Linked DNA regions of Homo sapiens: region 2 is linked to region 1. The links are contacts of gene promoters, found by promoter capture Hi-C in blood cells and fetal thymus (Javierre and others, 2016). All regions are on one chromosome and are shown on one strand. Each heading gives the region's core, a stretch centred on a gene start or on the middle of the fragment in contact. The rest is flanking DNA. Distances are from core to core; before and after follow the strand shown.

Evidence for each region. Contacts are between HindIII fragments. The CHiCAGO score rates a contact against its expected background, and 5 or more counts as called.
Region 2: a contact is called between a fragment that was not itself captured here and the fragment with the promoter of LY6D in region 1, in 1 of 17 cell types (non-activated CD4 T cells). The highest score is 5.0, in non-activated CD4 T cells.

What each region holds. Positions count from the first base shown.
Region 1 is chr8:142,784,397-142,788,949 of GRCh38, reverse strand. LY6D (lymphocyte antigen 6 family member D) reads left to right here and starts at 2,411. Exons shown (of 3, transcript NM_003695.3): 1 at 2,411-2,485; 2 at 3,263-3,361; 3 at 3,494-4,068. The coding sequence starts at 2,434. The coding sequence ends at 3,729. The HindIII fragment of the contact is 15,715 bases long and covers 1-4,553 here.
Region 2 is chr8:143,333,006-143,337,558 of GRCh38, reverse strand. TOP1MT (DNA topoisomerase I mitochondrial) reads left to right here and starts at 2,679. Exons shown (of 14, transcript NM_052963.3): 1 at 2,679-2,819. The coding sequence starts at 2,698. RefSeq lists a silencer at 2,522-2,981 and enhancers at 3,182-3,231, 2,771-3,455. The HindIII fragment of the contact is 2,627 bases long and covers 531-3,157 here.

The DNA of each region.
Region 1 (4,553 bases), core at 1,162-3,661:
CAATCCCTGGCTCTGAGGCTCTAGTCAGGTCACTGCCTACAAGAAACCCTCCCTGACTGCACTGTCCCCAGAAGCTCAGCTGTCCAAGGGCTCCTGGCATCAGAAGCACCCGCTTTCTCCTGAAAGTGAACTGTGTAGGGCTGCTGTTCATGCTTTTGCTAGGACCACCTGGGATGGGCAGCTCATCCTCGTGGGCAGCCCTGCCAGGTCAGAGGCCCTCATCCCACAAAACTGGAACCCCGCTCCGGCTCCCATGCCTGGCAGGGACGCAGCCACAGTGATGCCTGAGGTGTCCCACGGGGGTGAGCCAGGTGTGCAGGGCCCTCCTCCAGCCCCAGGTGTGGGGAGCACACTCCCCCATGGCCCCACACTCAGAACCCACTCTCAGGCCACCTGACATCCCGGACCCTCCAGCTCCACCAGACCCAGCAGGAATTCCAAACCTGTTTTTCCAGCAGCTCTCATGCCCCTGGCCACAGTGAGTCACCCTCCCCACCTGCCATGCCCACCGAGTCATCACCCCGCCACCAAGCCCTGAGCTCTGCCTCCCAAGGCCCCTGGAAGCACCTTCCCCCAAGCTGCCCATGCCTCTCACTGTGACCCATGGACACAGGGCCTTGGAGCTGGAGGAAACCTCCTCTCTCTGGGTGGGGGCATGGACCTTTGGGTCACCTGCCTTGGCAAGTGAGACTACACACGTCCCCACCAAGCTCCAGCCAGGGCCAGGCACCAGATGCAAATGTGGGGCTGCCCCAGGGGGCTCCCGCCTGCACCCTGGTTTCTAAAGGCACCACCAGGCAACCCCTCCTGTAGGTGGATCCTCCAGGCCCCGGCACTGTGTCAGGGAGAGCCCGGCCAGGAGCATTCTCAGGAGACATTTGCTGGGATCCCCGGCATCTGAGACGTGGGGCTCAGCAAGGGAGAGATGCCGGGAGGAAGGGCCAGAGGGTCTGTCTCAAGCCCAGGCCTGACTGGCCCCAGTACCCACGGTGCTCCCAAAAGCCTCAGCCCAGCCCAGGACCACCCTCCTCGGAACCGGCCCTGCCCTGCCCTGGGCCTGTTGTTGTCTGTTCATCAGCCACGTGGCAGCGGCGGCAGGAGGCTGGGCCCAGGGCTGACCTCCATCTGTGCCCCGGCTCCCACTCACCTTCAGCCTAGCCAGGGCAGGGGCAAAGCAAGTCTGTGGGCCCCTCCACACCACTCAGGTGGGTGCTGCCCAGCACAGGCGAGCGGCAGAGCGTGCTGGGCTGAGCAGGTGGATGGGGGCCCCAAGAGGTGGGCTCCTGCGCGAGGCGGTGGGTGCTCAGAGACCCCGTCTCCAGGGAAAGAAAGTCCCTCCTGTGAGTATAAAGAGGGTGAAGGCGGGGACTGGCCTCCACTCAACGGGCAGCAGACCAAGAACCTGCTTTGAGGCCCTGGGTGCTGGGGCCCAGCCCCAAAGAGTTCACGATTTTGGGGAGACTGGAGCCGGGACACCTAGAGCAATAGTTACAAAGTGGCCGGGATGGCGCTGCCCCCAACGTAGCAGGAGGGGCCTGGAGAGTGGGGGAAGGAATCCCACGGGGAGGGCTTCTGGGGCCCTGGAGGGCGGGAGGCAGGGCTGGTGGAGACCAGGAGGGCTCAGTCTCTCCCTGCACAACGCAGGGTGGAGTTGCTGCCTCCACAGCCCGGGCCTTCTGCCCACAGGGCTCCCCAGGCAACTTCGAGGGCCGGGTCCTCACAGTCCTCACTCTGTCCAGTGCTCACCTCACTGCTGCCCCAGCTGCCCTCCCTGCCTCGGAGTGGCCTCTGCCTCTGCCTCTGCCTCACACACCCCATCAGCCCACAGCCACCCCGAGCCCTTGCAGCTCAAGGACCTTCTGCATCCCCGGCAGCAACCCTGAGCCCAGAGCCAGGAGAGTAGGACCAGCACCTGCCCTTCCTACCTCCCCTGCCCTGGACACCCACGGGCACCCACAGGGCACCGGGCACAGGCTGCAACTCTATTGAGGGAACTATGGGGGGAATGCAGGGACAAAGACACAGGATGGTGATGGATGGTGGGGGGTGGGGGGCGGGGGGTAGCGGGTGGCAGGTCAGAGACAAAGTGACCCAGGAACGGACGGCAGCGAGAGAACAAGACCCACAGAGACAGAGAAGTGAAAGTGGGAGAGATGGAGGCACAGCAGCAGGAACAGCAGGGCCAGGAGGCCACTGGGCCCCGTTGCGGAGGGCAGACCTCTGCCTGGCGGGGGGCAGCAGGGGCAGCGCCCAGCGACAGCCAGGCTGGTGGGCGTGGGCCAGGCAGGGTGGGGCAGGTGCCCGTCCTGGGCTGACGCTTGCACAGAGCCCTGCAGAATGCCGCTGGCTGGCGGACTGCCCACCCCCGCCCAGCCCGTGCCTATAAGGCCTTGGCAATGCAGGGGCCCGCACTGCTCCCAGACGACATCAGAGATGAGGACAGCATTGCTGCTCCTTGCAGCCCTGGCTGTGGCTACAGGGCCAGGTGAGGGGCTGGGCCAAGGGGACGGGCGGGTGGGCGGCTGTGGCCTGTGTGGTCACCAAATACTAGGAGCCTGGAGCTGACGACATCTAGGCACAGAGAACCCCGACACTGTGGGTGCTAGACTCTTCAAATTTAAAACAACATGGAGCCCGAATCTTAACGAGTGTCAGATTTACAATGTTTCAGAATCTGAGGATCTTAGAACTGACTCCTGGAGTCACGGACCCTGAGAGAGTGGAGCAGGGGGTTGTCTTGAGATGCTTCTCACTGGGAGAGCGGCCATCTAGTCCCTGCCACCAGCCCCTCCCGGTCCCCAGGTCTCCCCCAGCACAGCCCAGGACAGCCCAAAGGCCACCAAGCCCTTCCTGTCATAGGCTCAGAGCAGCCAAGCTGGCTGCCCCCGGGGCCTTAGCTCCGTCAGGCCCTCAGAAACATAGCCATCTCCTCCAGGGACATCCCCTGGGGTGGGGACAAGAGCCAGTGTCCTCTTGGCAGTCGCAGAGCTCCCTGAGACCTTGGAGGAAAGGCTTGCAACACACCCTAGACAGGGGCAGGGCAGGACACCTCTTCCAAGCCGGCCCAGGCTGGAATACATGTCCCCTGAGGCTGCACTCAGGGCACATGCCCTGCCAGGACCCAGAGCCCGGGTTTGGGGGCCTAGGGCAAGGGCAGCAGGGCCTCTGTCCAGGAGGGGTCTCTGCAGGTGGGGGAGCAGGCCCTGCTGAGTCACCAGGAGGCCTCTGTTGGGCCCGCTGAGCCGGACTCCCTCCCCGCCAGCCCTTACCCTGCGCTGCCACGTGTGCACCAGCTCCAGCAACTGCAAGCATTCTGTGGTCTGCCCGGCCAGCTCTCGCTTCTGCAAGACCACGAACACAGGTGGGTAGCATCTGTCCAGGTGTCCCTGGGGCTGGGGGACATCCCTGGCTGTTGTGGGTGTTGGCTGGAAGGTTGTGGGGAGGTGGGGGGCAGAGGTGGCTGCCTGGCCTGACCACACTCACCTGTGCCCAGTGGAGCCTCTGAGGGGGAATCTGGTGAAGAAGGACTGTGCGGAGTCGTGCACACCCAGCTACACCCTGCAAGGCCAGGTCAGCAGCGGCACCAGCTCCACCCAGTGCTGCCAGGAGGACCTGTGCAATGAGAAGCTGCACAACGCTGCACCCACCCGCACCGCCCTCGCCCACAGTGCCCTCAGCCTGGGGCTGGCCCTGAGCCTCCTGGCCGTCATCTTAGCCCCCAGCCTGTGACCTTCCCCCCAGGGAAGGCCCCTCATGCCTTTCCTTCCCTTTCTCTGGGGATTCCACACCTCTCTTCCCCAGCCGCAACGGGGGTGCCAGGAGCCCCAGGCTGAGGGCTTCCCCGAAAGTCTGGGACCAGGTCCAGGTGGGCATGGAATGCTGATGACTTGGAGCAGGCCCCACAGACCCCACAGAGGATGAAGCCACCCCACAGAGGATGCAGCCCCCAGCTGCATGGAAGGTGGAGGACAGAAGCCCTGTGGATCCCCGGATTTCACACTCCTTCTGTTTTGTTGCCGTTTATTTTTGTACTCAAATCTCTACATGGAGATAAATGATTTAAACCAGTGTGGCTGTGGCTGTGCTATTCTGGGACGGAGGAGCTGAGGGGCGGATATCAGGCCACATAGGTACCCTGAGCCTCCAGCACATGTCCCCTGGGGCCAGTCGTGGGGTGATGCCTGAGGTGGCACCGTCCGTCCCCACCCTGGAAGGGGCAGGCTGCTCAGATGCCTCCCACCGCCCCAGAGGTGGAGGGCACTCCTGGGGTGAGGCCTGAGTAGGAGCACAGGGTAAGAGGGCTCGCAGGCCCCTCCCACACATAGCACCTAGGGGAGAAGGAACCCCTCAGCCTTTCACCCCGGGTCATGTCTCTGAGACCGGGGTTCAGGAGCCTCCAGAGAGGCCGGCTTGGGACACCCCAGGCCCAACCCCAGCTTTGGAGCCAAGTAGGCACTGACTACCTACAGCCATCGCCAAGGCAAGTCCAGCTGCCCAGGGAAAGTTCAGCCACCATCCAGGAAAGTCCCATGGACCCTATCTATGGGAACCCA
Region 2 (4,553 bases), core at 595-3,094, 550 kb before region 1:
TTCAAACATTGTTTTGGCTATTCTGGGTCCCTTGTATTTCCCTGTGAATTTTAGGATCAGGTTGTCAATTTCTGTAAAAACGCCAGCTGGAATTTAGATGGGGATTGTATTGAGTTTTTGGATCAGTTTGGGGAGTATTGCCGTCTTTTTTTTTGAGACGGAGTCTTGCTCTGTTGCCCACGCTGGAGTGTAGTAGCGTGATCTCGGCTCACTGCAAGCTCTGCCTCCTGGGTTCACGCCATTCTCCTGCCTCAGCCTCCCAAATAGCTGGGACTACAGGCGCCTGCTATCATGCCAGGCTAATTTTTTTAGTAGAGACGTTTTAGCCAGGATGGTCTCGATCTGACCTCGTGATCCGCCCGTCTCGGCCTCCCAAAGTGCTGGGATTACAGGCGTGAGCCACTGCACCTGGCCAATGCTGTCTTAACCATATGAAATCATCCAGTCCGTGAACATGGGATGGCTGCTCATTTATTTAGGCTGTCTTTAATTTCTTTGGGCAATGTTTTACAGTTTTCAGAGTATAAGCTTGATACTTCCTTTGTTAAATTTATTGTGCAGTATTTTATTTTTTCATGCTATAATAAATTATTTTCTTAATTTCATTTTCAGTTTGCGTATGGCTACTGGTTAGAAATACAACTGATGTTTGCATATTGATCTTGTACCCTACAATTGTGCTGAATTCATCTATTAGCTCTACTAGTTTTTGTGGATTCTTTTTTAAATTTTATTTTCCATAGAGATAGGGTCTCACTATGTTGCCCAGGCTGGTCTTGAACTCCTTGGCTCAAGTGATCCACTTGCTTTGACCTCCCAAAGTGCTTGGATTACAGGCATGAGCTACGGTGCTCGGCCAATTTTTGTGGATTCTTTGGGATTTTCTATATACAAGATTATGCCACCTGCAAATAGACATAATTTACTTCTTTCTTTCTGATCTGGGTGTCTTATTTCATCTGCTTGCCTGTTTGCTCAGTTAGAGCCTCTGGTACCATGTTGAGAGGCAGTGGTGAGAGTGGACATCCTCGTCTTATTCTTCATTTCAGCAGGAGCGTCCAGTCTTTCTTCTGGCATATGAGGTTAGCTGCGGGGTTTTGTAGATGCTGCTTTTCAGGTTAAGTTTCTTTCTATTCTGTTCTTGAGTGGGTTTTCCATTCTGTTTATCATGAAATGGTGCTGGATTTGTCTGCTGCTTTTTCTGCATCTATTGAGAAATCTTAGGGTTTTTGTCCTGCCACACTCCCTCTTACAAAACCTGAGGAACCAACTGGGCATCGGCTCACACCTGAAATCCCAGCACTTTGGGAGGCCAAGGTACTTGAGCCCAGGAGTTCGAGACCAGCCGGGGCAACATAGGGAGACCCCATCTCTACAAAAAGTAAAAAACAAAAAATCAAAAACCCTTAGAAACCTGAACTGGAAAACACATTGACCTCAGGATTCCGTTGAAGGAATGGTGGGCCTGGGCCAAGGCCCTCTTCTGGTTTGTAGAAAGGGTTACCTGAAAAAATATGCATCACTGTTCCGCAGCCCCTGGGAGGAGGTGGCCCACCTGGAGAGTCAGCTGCTGTGTCCTGGTGTGTGTGTACCTTCAGCTGCTGAGCTGCTCATTCTGAAATGATGGGACACCTACCAGGTCTGCCTGGGCCCTAAGAGCGAGCAATTGCAGCCCTCGGCCTCTGCCCATGGCTTCCAGCAGCTAGATGACATGGACACTGAGTCAGTTGGTGGCAGGGGAGGGTCGCTGAGGGCGTGCGGTGGCAGCCCGGACTCCTTTCCTGCCTGTGTCCACTGCATTCCCCCCAACGGTCACAGTGAAAGTGCGGAATGCATGTGAATTCATCTGCTTCCCACGGTCCTGGTGTCAGGGTTTTACCGGGGAAGACCAAGGCTGCGGTGCTGCCAGAGGTGAGCGGTGTGGCCTGTTGTGGCTCAGGGCCTACCGCCAAGTGCTGATCTAGAGGTTTTGCCCCTTGGCCATGCTCCCCAGTGAAGACACTGGGGTTAAACCCTGGTCAGGGTCAGCAGTCACGCTGGGGACTGAGCGCAGGAAGGAGGCTCCAGCTGTGCCTGGTCTCTGGTCTCCTTGGGAGTGAGAGGCTGGTTGGCAGGGATGATTTCGCAGGACTTCCTGTGACCTTTGTCCAGAGGCACCACCTCTGAGGGGCTGCTGTGGGCTGGACAGCAGGTGCTTCTGCCGGTTTCTGCGTCCTGGAAGTGCTGCTGTTTGTAGGGGATGAGGTAGGGGGCCATCTGAGCCTGTGTGGTCCCTTCTCCAGAGCAGCAGAGCGTGTACTTAGGAAGGACCTGCTAGGTGCCCCTGCCCTCAGAGGCTCTGGGAGAGAGCTGTGTGCAAGCCCTGGGCAGGAGTTCACTGGCCTGGTCGTGTGACCTGTGGGGCATCCTGACAGCCAGCCCTGTGCTGCAGAGGTCAGTGGGACTGGGTTTGGATCTGGGTCCCCGCCCAGCGTGAAGGGGCGCTGGACCACGAAGGCAGGGAAACCAGGGGGAGGCCGGCAGGACAGTCAGTGGTCCTGCTGCCGCAGCCCCGTGCAGGCTTAGACCGCCCAGCCTTGGGATGAGCGCCGCTGGGGGCGGAGGCCGCGCTCGGGGGCGGGGCTGGCCGCTGGGGGCGGGGCGGGGCTGGCCGCTGGGGCGGGGCCCAGCTTGTCGCTCTTTCCCGGAGGCTGGCAGATGCGCGTGGTGCGGCTGCTGCGGCTCCGGGCGGCTCTGACGCTGCTCGGGGAGGTCCCCCGCCGCCCGGCCTCCCGGGGTGTCCCGGGCTCGCGCAGGACGCAGAAGGGCAGTGGAGCCAGGTAAGGTGTCCCAGTGAGCAGGCGGCGAGGGCCCTGAGCACCGGGCTTGGGTAGGTCCAGAAAGGGGAGTGGCAGGCCTCGTGGGACGGCCTTGCCCTGCTTCCGGTTTTCCCAAAAGTCGGGCCAGGAGAGCATGCGTGCCGCGGTGTGACCGGCCCGCCTCCTGCCCGGGGTGTACAGGCCCCCCCATGACGTCGCCCTTGCTTCCCCAGGCACCACCCCACCAACCCTATTTGGGGAAATCTCCCCTCTTTTTTTCCGCTTGTGGTTTCATCATTTGTGTAGCTGTGCCTGGGCCTCAACACTGTAGGGTTTGGTTAGGTACTTTATAAAAAGCTTATGTTGCTGTGCATGGTCTTCTGAGACCCGCTCTTTCCTGGAGTCGGTTCCCGGGTTGTCTCCAGGACCGATTCTGCATGGCGGCGGGCGCTCACTGTCATATCTACATCACCAGGCACAAGCCGCATGGATCCAGTGGCCCTGGTGGCCGTTGGTGGTCCCAGGCGCTTTCCTGGAGGACATGTGAGAAGCCCTGCCGGCGCATACTGGGCCTGGGGTAGCCGCATGGGGATGGGTCTCTGCGCATGAAATGCTGGAGTTTCCGAAGAGCTGGAGAGTTGACAGCCTCACTGGTGCGTGGGAGATCCTGCAGGAGTTCCCGCCAGGTCTCGCGGTTTATCATCATTCACTTAGTGCTTCCAGCGTGGCATGTCTCTGTGACCTGGTGGTGCGCTATCAGCATACCCATTCACAGCTGAGGGCCTGCACAGCTGCCTAAGGCCATGCTGCAGAAATGTCCTGTCTGCCTGCAGGAGCTTGGGACCCAAAGAGAGCCCCAGATGGGGCAGGGTGTCTTGGGAGGAGGGAGTTCTGGCCTGCGCTTGGAGCTGGGGCTGGCTGTGGGCCCTGCATTGAGGCACATCTCTCCGAGGGTGCACAGGCAGGTAGGTGCTTTCCAAAAAGTGCTGCTGAGCTGCAGTCGCCCAGGTGGACAGGTGGGTTTGGAGCAAGGTCTCTGGCTTTGAAAGCCAGCTTGTGTCTGATGGTGGTGCTTGGTGCCCTGGTCTCTGCAGGGGTGAAAGAATGTCACTACAATGTGCAGCCCTCAGTTGGGCTTGAGCGCACACCCAGTGGTGCAGCCCTGCCTGGCCGCTGGCCGGCAGGTTGTTTCACCTCAGTGTCTTCATCTGTGAAATGAGACTGGTGATGTGACTACCCTAGAGGCTTTGTGAAGGACTTGGCAGTCAGGGTCACTGTCAGTTCTTTATTTTTATTTTTATTATTATTATTTGAGACAAAATCTTGCCCTGTCACCCAGGCTGGAGTGCAGTGGTGCAATTTCAACTCACTGCAACCTCTGCCTCCTGGGTTCAAGTGATTCTCCTGCTTCAGCCTCCTTGAGTAGCTGGGATTACAGGCACCCGCCACCACGCCTAGCTAATTTTTGTATTTTTAGTAGAGACGGGGGTTTTGCCATGTTGGCCAGGCGGGTCTCGAACTCCTGGCCTCAAGTGATCCGCCCGCCTCGGCCTCCCAAAGTGCTGGTATTACAGGCGTGAGTCACCGCGCCTGGCTCCTATCAGTTAGTTCCGAGATACACGTGGTTTCCCATTTTCTCACACCCGACATGATCCATCTTCCCTTATTCTCTAAGAAGGCGTTGTCTAGGTTTGCATCCTTCAGGGCACTTAGTGGTGCAGCCTCCTACCAGCCCCACCCTAGACATGCTGTATC